2 separate regions of the Homo sapiens genome follow, and region 2 is linked to region 1. Evidence: promoter capture Hi-C in human tissues and cell types (Jung and others, 2019). All regions are on one chromosome and are shown on one strand. Each heading gives the region's core, a stretch centred on a gene start or on the middle of the fragment in contact. The rest is flanking DNA. Distances are from core to core; before and after follow the strand shown. Region 1 holds the start of COMTD1 (catechol-O-methyltransferase domain containing 1). Region 2 overlaps KAT6B (lysine acetyltransferase 6B).

Region 1 (4,664 bases), core at 525-3,024:
CGTCCCCTTTCGGAGGTTGCAGCACCTTCCCGCGCCACAGGACCTGCGGGAGGGCGGGGCCAACCGGGCCGTGGGAGGCGGGGCTTCGGAGGGAGGTGCTCGGGCGGAAGGCGGGGGACTGGGAGGGAGGTGCCCGGGCGGGAGGCGGGGTCTTGGAGGGAGGTGCCCAGACGGAAGGCGGGGTCTCGGAGGGAGGTGTCTGGGCGGGAGGCGGGGCCTCGGAGGGAGGTGCCCGGGCAGGAGGTGACCAGAGCTGGAGACAGAACCAAAGCGGAGGAAAGCCTGGGTACCGGGGCCGGAGCCCCGGAGGGGGTGTAGCCTACGTGACTGGACTGGGTGGGGCTTTGGGGTATAAGAGGAGTCAAGGGAAAAGATGGGGACCCGGCCCGACAGGGTGCTTTCTCCTCCCCCGCAGTGGATCCCTTACTCTGAGGACGGCGAGGATGCCTCCGGGTCGCAGCAGCTGCAGGCAGCGCTCGTAGTAGGCGGAGCAGTTCTCCTTGTCCGCATCCACCACGGCCACGTCGAAGGTGCCGGCCTCGCCCGCCGCCAGCAGCTCGTCTTGCGGGGGGAGGGAGGGCAGGTGCGGCTGAGTCCGCGGCCCCGGCGGCCCTGAGGCCCCTCCCAGGCCGGCCCGGGCTCTGTGACAACCGGCCCTGCCCTTAACCTGCCCGGCAGGCCCAGTCACAGCTCGGCCACACAGCAGCCTCGTTTGCAATGAATGGCTTCAAAGCCCTTCCCGCTTCGGTGCTCACCCAGGGTCTCCAAGGCGGGCTTCAGCCGGAGGTCGATCTTGTGCTCCGCCTCGGCCTGCGGAGGGAGCGGGTCAGCCGTTGCGCCCCCGCCTGGGGCTGCAGAGCTAGGCGCGGGCGCTCACCTGCCTCCACAGGGGCCGTCCCAGCTCCGGGGGCTGCGCGTCCACCTCGCAGGTCACCACGCGCCCGTCCGCGGGCAGCGCCAGGGCCAGGGCCAGGGCGGAGTAGCCCGTGAAGGTGCCTGGGACCAGGACACAGACGGGCTCAGCCCAGAGTGGGGGTCGGCCCGGAAACCTCGGCCCTCCGGGATCCCGGCCGCGTGCCCCTACCCAGGTCCAGCGCCTTCTTGGCCTGGATGAGCCGCGCCAGGTTGGCCAAGAGCTGGGCCTGCTCGCAGGTCATCATAGAATCCCCCTGCGGCTGCTCCAGGGTCAGCTGCGTGAAAGGAGAGGGTGGCACCAGCCATGCAGGTCACCCACCTTCGCCCTGGGGGTCCCAAGCCCCAGGGGCGCGGTTCTGGGCGTGGCCTGGGGGACTGGCCCTTCGGAACGCCCACCGCACCCGGCCCAGGGAAGCCGGAAGCCCAGGGAGGGCCAGGGCCCAGCCCAAGGTCACACAGCCACGTGGGACCCGCAGGGGTCGAGAGGGACGCCCGTTTCCGTCCCGCGCCCTGCTGACCAGCCTCAGGCTTCGCAGCGCCGGGTGCTCCCGCATGGAGCGGCTCAGAAGATACTGCCACAGGCGGCTGTCCTCGGGGGGAAGCAGGCACTGCTCTCGCCGGCCTCGCCATGGGGGGCACCGCCTCCCTGACGGGGAGAGGGTGTTGGATTAACCTGAGCCACGCCGCGCCCTACTCTGCGCCCGCCCACCCGCCCGCCGGGACCAGGTCCTGCTCACCCAGGAAGAGGCCAGTGGCGAAGGCGGCGCCCAGTGCGGCTGAGCCCAGGGCCAGCGCGGCGGGCACGGAGAGCCGGGGCACCGGCTGGGTCATGGCGCGGGCAGGAGGCGGCGGGAGGCAGTGACAGGTCACGTGAGCTGGAGCTCCTGGGACAGGTCTCGGACTCGCGGGCCCGCCGGGCTCCACCTTGTCGGGGCACTACCCGCGGAGCCGCGGTCTCGGGCATCATCTGGCGGCCACACAGCCTTACTGCAAGCCCCGCCCGAGAGAGCCGGGCGCGATCTGGTGGCCGCGCCGGGAACTGCGCCCCTGCGGGGAGCAGGCCAAGCGCCTAGATCTGAATTTTCCCGCCTGTGCCCGCAGTCCAGGTGCCTGCCTCCATTCCCCTCCTGCCAATGCTTTTTTCTCCTCGCCACCATTTATTCTGAGGCCCCTTGGGGGCATATGTGAATTGTGTATGGAGGGCGCCAGTGTAAGTTACAAGATAGTCACAAGTACAAGAGATAGAGATTAAAGGGGGAAGGCCTCCTGGACAAGATGCCCCAAAGCATCAGGCTGAAGGAGTGAGGGAACTGGTTTGAGGGCATGCAGCCTCGAATTGGGGTTCAGGAGCCCTGGGGTGGGCCTGTGGAACTGAGACCATATTCTTAGCTGTTAAAATCCTGCTTTTGGGGGCCAGATGGATACGAGTGTCTAATCTTGGTCCTGCCAGTCTCTCTGAGCCTCAGTTTCCTTCCTGTAAAATGAGGCCTACAATCTTACCATAAAAGGCACCAGATCCCACAGCTTCGCACACAGTAGCACAATACATAAGTGGCAGCTGCTGTTATGTTGGTAGGTTGGAATGAAGACATCTTGGGGAGAAAGCCGGTGAAGCTCCCTTGCAAGGTTGTTCTGTTGAAACACTGTCCAGAGAACACTGATTGAACCCCTACCATGCGCCAAACTCCGGAGGAGGTGAAAGACGCTGACGCTGTCCTTTTTTTTTTTTTTTTTGAGACTGAGTCTCGCTCTGTCACCCAGGCTGGAGTGCAGTGGCACAATCTGGTCTCACTGCAACCTCCACCTCCTGATTCAAGCGATTCTCCTGCCTCAGACTCTGGAGTAGCTGGGACTACAGGCACGCACCCCTACACCCAACTAATTTTTGTATTTTTTGTAGAGACGGGTTTTGCTATTTTGGCCAGGCTGGTGTCAGACTCCTGGCCTCAAGTGATCTGTTTGCCTCGTCCTTCCAAAGTGCTGGGATTACAGGCCTGAGCCATTGTGCCTGGCGTTGGTGTTCTTTTTTTTTTTTTTGGCAAGGTCTCTGGCAAGGCTGAAGTGCAGTGGCAAGATTACTGCTTATTGCAGCATCGAGCTCCCAGGCTCAGCAATCCTCTTGCCTCAGCCTCCCAAGTAGCTGGGACCACAGGCGGTCACCACTGTGCCCAGCTAATTTAAAAAAAAAAATTTTTTTTTTAAAGAGAAGGGGTCTTACTATGTTGTCCAGGCTGGTCTCGAACTCCTGGCTTTAAGTGATCCTCCTGCCTCAGCCTCCCAAAGTGCTGGGATTACAGGTGTGAGCCCCCGTGCCTGGCCTCTGGTTGGTATTCTTAGTGAAGCTGGTTTCAGAGATGCAGGTCACACACAGCTGGCGGGTGGCCTAAGCTTCACGACTTCTGCCTCTGTGAAATGGCGTTATGAATAGTCCCAACCTCCTAGGGGACCAAATGAGAAAATCCAGGCTGAGGACTTACACAGGGGACCAAATGAGAAAATCCTGGCACTTAGTGAGCTGTCATGTTACCTTTAAAAGGAGTCAAAGTCCGAAGGGCAGCCGGTTATCTTCCTGCTGCACTGCAGATGTCCCCTGGGGTGGAGGCTGTAAGAGCCTTTTTTTTTTTTTTTTTTTTTTTTTGAGATGGAGTCTTGCTCTGTCGTCCAGGCTGGAGCCCAGTGGCGCGATCTCAGCTCACTGCAACCTCCGCCTCCCAGGTTCAAGCGATTCTCCTGCCTCAGCCTCCTGAGTAGCTGGGACTACAAGCGCCAGCCACCATGCCTGGCTAATTTTTGTACTTTTAGTAGAGACGGGGTTTCACCATATTGGCCAGGCTGTTCTCGAACTCCTGACCATGTGATCCGCCCGCCTCGGCCTCCCAAAGTGCTGGGATTACAGGCGTGAGCCACCGCACCCGGCCAAGAATCCATTTTAACAACGCTGACTAGGCATTGAGCTCCACTGGGGGGCTTCCCAGGCGGGGGCTCAACCTGAGCGAGGCCCAGAGGCCAGCTTGTTGAGTAGTTAATGAGAGAGTGGCTTGGCTGAGGATGAAGGCCAGAAACTTGCAGTTTCTTGATCTGAGCTGCAGGAACCTTGGGCCTAGCGGAAGCGAGGAAGGAGGAGGCGGAGCTCTGGGGTGAGGCTACGGGCCGGCCTCTAATCAGAGACAGGGTGGGGCTGGTTCTTTGACCAACCAGCCGGCAGCCCCCGAAGCACATGGCTGTGTGGGGGCAGAACCTGCTGTCTCCGTGCATGCGTGCCCTTTCGGCCCTCCTGGGACTTGCCTCCGGGCTAGCAGCACTGCTCGAGGACAAGCTCCTTGCCCTTTACTCTTTGACCCTCTACGTCCCGCTTGGCCTCTAACTTGACCGTGAATCTCATTCTGCGGGTAAGGACTGAGGCTGCTGGTCTCTCCTTCCCAGGCCTGAGCATACAGCAGGCGCTAAATAAATGCTCTTGACTAGAGTTCTGGCGCTGCCTGGCGCTCCTTGCTGCCAGGAGTAAAAATAGTAACAGCAGGGCCCCTTTATTGAGGACCTGCCGGGCACCAGGCACAATGCATCCAGGATCCGGGGGCGGCTGTGATCTTGTTCCCATTTTCCAGAGCAGGAAAGCTCAGAGACCACCGCCCAGACCCTGCAGCCAACAGAGGAAACGCGCGTACCTCTCCCTTGAACCCTGGGACCCAGAGGGAACAGGCCTTCTTGGCTCCTCTGCTGGGACGAGGGCCCAGCTCGAGCTGGCCTGA
Region 2 (4,969 bases), core at 2,315-4,814, 350 kb before region 1:
ACTCGGGAGGCTGAGGCAGGAGAATCACTTGAACCCGGGAGGTGGAGGTTGCAGTGAGCCAAGATGGTGCCGCTGCACTCCAGTCTGGGTGACAGAGCAAGACTCCATCTCAAAAAAAAAAAAAAAAAAAAGACATTTGTTTTGGCTGGGGAAGGCTTTGCAGAGGGAGGTAACTTCTAGATTGAGATTTGAAGTCAGAGTCCATCCAGAAAGTAGGGAAGACATTTTATGTAGAGAAGTAACAAGCTACAGGGATCAGAGGTATGAACCAGGGTGCATGTTTGGGTTATGGTGAGTGGTGTCTGGCCAAACTGTGTGGCTCAGGGTCTTTCTGCTTCACCATCTTTAGCATAGAAGCCTTCCTTGTGCTCACTTGCTCATCTCATTCTCACAAAATAGCTGCTTCATATCTAGGCACCATCTCTCTATTCCCACAGGGGAAAGAGGGAAAGTGCCAAGGGTAACAGCGGAAACGTCTTCCTTTTTATTCAGGAAATGAGGGACTCCCCAAGGCTTCTGCTTATATTTCATTGGCTTGAGCTGAGCCGTACAACCATCACTAGTGGCAGGTAGTCTGGGATGTCAAGAAAGTAGCTTCCCAGTCTCTTTGGTTAGAAGGCAAAGGAGAAGATGGTGGGAATCGGTTTGCATCAGTCACTCTACACATTATCTGCTTTGTTAGGGCAGCATTATCTTAGTATTGTTACCAAGTTCAGGGTCTTTTCTGGGGTGATCAAGCATCCTGGGTCGCCTGGGACCAAGTGGTTTTCTGGGTTGTAGGACTTTGAGTGCTATAGCCTGGAAAGCCCTAGGAAAACCAGGATGGTTGGCCATCCTAGTCTTTCCCCATATCCTCTGTTGTCCAAAAATATGGAAGCAGGTCATTTCTTGACATAGGAGCTGCCTTGACTGGGCTTAAAAAGGCCTGAAAGGCAGCTTAATAATTTACAATGAGAAATAAATGATATTGGATCAGGGGAGGATACTGGAAGAAGAGCTCCATGGGATTTGCTTGGTGCTCGTGAGATTTTGACTGACAAGAGATCTTAGGGCTACTATATTACCCAAATTCAGGGGACTCTGTTCACTTTGCCAGCAGCCTGGGATTAATTCTGTAGTGCTAATGCCATTCTGAGAAGCCTTTCAATGAATCTGAGCTCAGGGTTCTTAGTCCCCCTGTTACTGAAGCTTCTCCCCAGACAGTGTCGTTTTTGTTTTTTCCTTCCTTTCTAAGCTTCTGGTGCTGACTAGTCTCCCCTTCTAATGGACAGTGTTTAGATACGTTATTGTCTAAAGGTAGATCTGGCCAGGCATGGTGGCTCACACCTGTAATCCCAGCACTTTGGGAGGCCAAAGCTGGCAGATCACCTGAGGTCAGGAGTTTGAGACCAGCCTGGCCAACACGGTGAAACCCCGTCTCTACTAAAAATACAAAAATTAGCTGGACATGGTGACAGGCACCTATAGCTGAGATCCATTGTGAGTGCCATTGCACTCTAGCCTGGGCGACAGAGTGAGACTCCATCTCAAAAAATAATAATAAAAATAAAGGTAGATTAAAAAAAAAGAGACATAATTTGCGTTATCGTAAAATTTACTTTTTTAAAGTGTGTAATTCAGTGGTTTTTAGTATGTTCACAAAGTCATTCACCACTGTCTAATTCCAGAACATTTTTCTTACCCCAAAATGAAATCCTATACCCATTAGCATCACTGCCCATTTCCTGCTTCCTTTAGACTGTGGCAACCACTCATCTATTTTCTGTCTCTATAACTTTGCGTATTTTAGACATGTCATATAAATGGAATCCTATGGTATGTGGCCTTTTTTAAAAATCACTGGCTTCTTTCACTGAGCATAATTTTTCAAGTTCTTTTAAGCTGTAGTATGTATCAGTACTTCATTCTTTATAACTGCCAAATAATAGTTCTTTGTATGGATATACCACATTTTATTTCATTCATTCATTAGACATTGATGGTTCTACTTTCTGGCTATTATGAGTAGTAGTACTATGAACATTTGTGTACATATTTTTGTGTGGACACGTTTTTACTTCTCTTGGCTGTATACCTAGCAGTGGAATTGCTGGTCTTCAGGTGTGTCTTACTGATGTTTTTTTTTGAGATGGAGTTTTGGTCTGTCGCCTGGGCTGAAGTGCAGTGGCGCAATCTCGGCTCACTGCAACCTCCACCTCCCAGGCTCAAGCAATTCTCCTGCCTCAGCCTCCCAAGTAACTGGGATTACAGGCGCACGCCACCATGCCCAGCTAATTGTTGTATTTTTAGTAGAGACGGGGTTTCACCATGTTGGCCAGGCTGGTCTCGAACTCCTGGGCTCAAGCAATCCTCCTGCCTTGGCCTCCCAAAGTGTTGGGATTACAGGCGTGAGCCACTGTTCCTGGCCTTATCTTACTCTCTCTTTTTTTTTTTGAGACGGACTCTCACTCTGTCTTCCATGCTGGAGTGCAGTGGTGCAGTCTTGGCTCACTGCAACCTCCACCTCCCAGGTTCAAGCCATTATCCTACCTCAGCCTCTGGAGTAGCTGGGACTACAGGTGCAGCTAATTTTTGTCATTTTAGTAGAGATGGGGTTTCACCATATTGGTCAGGCTGGTCTCCATCTCCTGACCTCAGGGGATCCGCCTGCCTCGGCCTCCCAAAGTGCTGGGATTATAGGTGTGAGCCACTGTGCCCAACCATCTTTAAGCCTCCTTAAGGAGGCTGTGTCTCTAACATGCCCTGTTGGTTTTATAGTTGGACTCTCACTGGACAGCCTCGTTTTTCTAAGATTTGGGGGTTATAAGGATCAGAGTTGTCCCCAGTTGGCTCCTTTCACCTCGTCCATAAGGTTGTTGTGAGGCTTCACTGAGGTAATCTGTATAAAGTAAGGTGCTGGCCTGTACCCTGTACATCACTCAGTAGTGGTGATTTCACTGCCCTTTGCCTCCTGCCTTTGGCTTCTGGCTATCTCCAAACACCCCATGCCTTCTGTGCTCCACCCTCTGTTGAAACACAGGAATCTAAAACCATTCATTGATACTTTTTGAGTGATTATACTGAAAACAATTGCATGTTGTCTCATGCAGAATTTTCGTGTTAAACCCTGTGTTGCAAGGATGCCATTAACCAGCACACAGATGGCGGTGGAGATTGATTGATTGAGATGGGGTTTCGCTGTGTTGCCCAGGCTGGAGTGCAGTGGTGTAATCGTAGTTCACTGTAACTTTGAACTCCTGGACTCCAGTGATCCTCCTGTGTCAGTTTTCCAAGTAACTGGGACTACAGTCTCATGTCACTGTGCCTGGCTAATTTTTAAAATTATTTTATAGAGCTGGGGTCTCGCTATGTTGCCTAGGCTCTTCTCAAACTCCTGGCCTCAAAGCGATCCTCCTGCCTCAGCCTCCCAAAGTGTTGGGATTACCAGCGTGAACCACCACACTTGGCTGGGGATGGAGTTTTAGACACCAGAGGCTTCCTTCCGAGGTTGACCTAGAAAGCACCCTTGGTGGGTGCCATGGGATGGGGGAATACAGTCAAAAGGAACCTGCTCTTCCCGCTGCGCCTCCACCTGAGGTGGATGTGTCTGCTGGGGCTGCTGGAGTCTCCATCTTCCACTTTAACTTCACTTAAGAGCTGAAAGCTCTGCCCCTTCTTCAAGATTTTCCCTGCTGTCTCCCCTTCCCTGCTCAACCAGAGATTCCTCTTATTCTTCCTCTTGCTATTAGTATTAATCTGGCTCACTGACTCTTTTCCTTAACCTCATCCTAAAACTGTCTGATGCATATTTTATATTTTCTTGCATGTTTGACTTTTAGTTAGTATTTTACAGTAATTTCGTTCTGCAGCCATCCTCTTATCTGATACCCTGGAACTCATTCCTGTGCCTATCAGTTCTCACCTCTGGTAATTAAACTTTGTAAAAAAGAAATGTGACATTTGGACATATTCTCTTATTAGTAAAGGTATTATTGTGTATGAGACTAATGCTGTGCATCTATAATAAGTTGTTTCACCTTGTGAATACTAATGTAATTTGGAAATAAACCTTTCTTTGTTAAAGACTTTTTCTACATGGGCCACGTTTTTCCAGACCTATTTCCTAATAATTTGTGGTTTTTAAAGGTATGTCAATAGAGATGCTGTAGCCAGCATGGCTGGATTCTGTTAGATAAACATTTTGTGAGATTGCTTACCTTAAACAATTGTCTTTAAAAGTTAATTTCTTCCCTAATGTGTCAGTAAGGAAATTCTATAGTATTTAAGAAGCCTGATAAAGTCCAGTTAAAACATTTTGCATTGCTCTTTAAACATCTTTTCTGAGGGTTGATGTGTTCGTGTTTGTTTGGTTCACATAGTTTCTTCTGAATTTTAAGAAAGCTTTGTCAGAATCAGTAACTTGCCTATAGTGTATTTTTCATGACCATATGGCTTTCTTCATCAAAAACAGCTAAGTAAAAATTTCAGTGAATAATAGTATATATATATGGGAATGTATTCCTCATCATTTGTATGCTCTTGAGAGAGTGACTCATGTACTGTTTTCTATTGAGTTCCCGAAAGTTTATAAAGAGATGACAAACAATTGGCTATGGGATTGAAATAATGCACATGTAAAATGGAAGGGAAAACATGGAAACAGTTTCTTCCTTTGTTCTTCCCTTACCTTGATGAAATTTTTACCACTTAACGTTTTTCAGTAAAGTCAAGGTCAGTATCAGAGCCTAGTACGGTTCTGCTTGCCGCTGTCTGAGGATTACCTGTCTTATTACAGAATGTACATGCTCCCAGAGGAGAAGATACAGTTTGATTTCAGGATGACAAACAGCTCTTCTGGGACAATAGTGTCAAGTATAAAAGGATTATAAAGGTTTTAGGACCATGGGATGGTTTGAAGGGGAAAGGGTGAAATGACAGTTAAGGTTGGCATCACCGAGGTCCCAGTTGTTGGCTGCCCCCTACTTCTCCT

The links. Contacts are between HindIII fragments. The study calls those that stand out against the background at their distance.
Region 2: a contact is called between a fragment that was not itself captured here and the fragment with the promoter of COMTD1 in region 1, in 1 of the 25 tissues and cell types used here (aorta).

What each region holds. Positions count from the first base shown.
Region 1 is chr10:75,234,183-75,238,846 of GRCh38, forward strand. It overlaps COMTD1 (catechol-O-methyltransferase domain containing 1), which reads right to left and starts at 1,775. Exons shown (of 7, transcript NM_144589.4): 1 at 1,653-1,775; 2 at 1,434-1,561; 3 at 1,085-1,190; 4 at 878-996; 5 at 756-810; 6 at 428-561; 7 at 1-43. The coding sequence starts at 1,746. RefSeq lists silencers at 504-733, 894-1,183, 1,314-1,393, 1,554-1,693, 1,729-2,023 and 1 more. The HindIII fragment of the contact is 14,083 bases long and covers 1-4,664 here.
Region 2 is chr10:74,878,509-74,883,477 of GRCh38, forward strand. All of the region lies in intron 3 of KAT6B (lysine acetyltransferase 6B), which reads left to right. Among named protein-coding and RNA genes, the nearest start is that of KAT6B, 54 kb to the left of the region's middle. The HindIII fragment of the contact is 7,129 bases long and covers 1-4,969 here.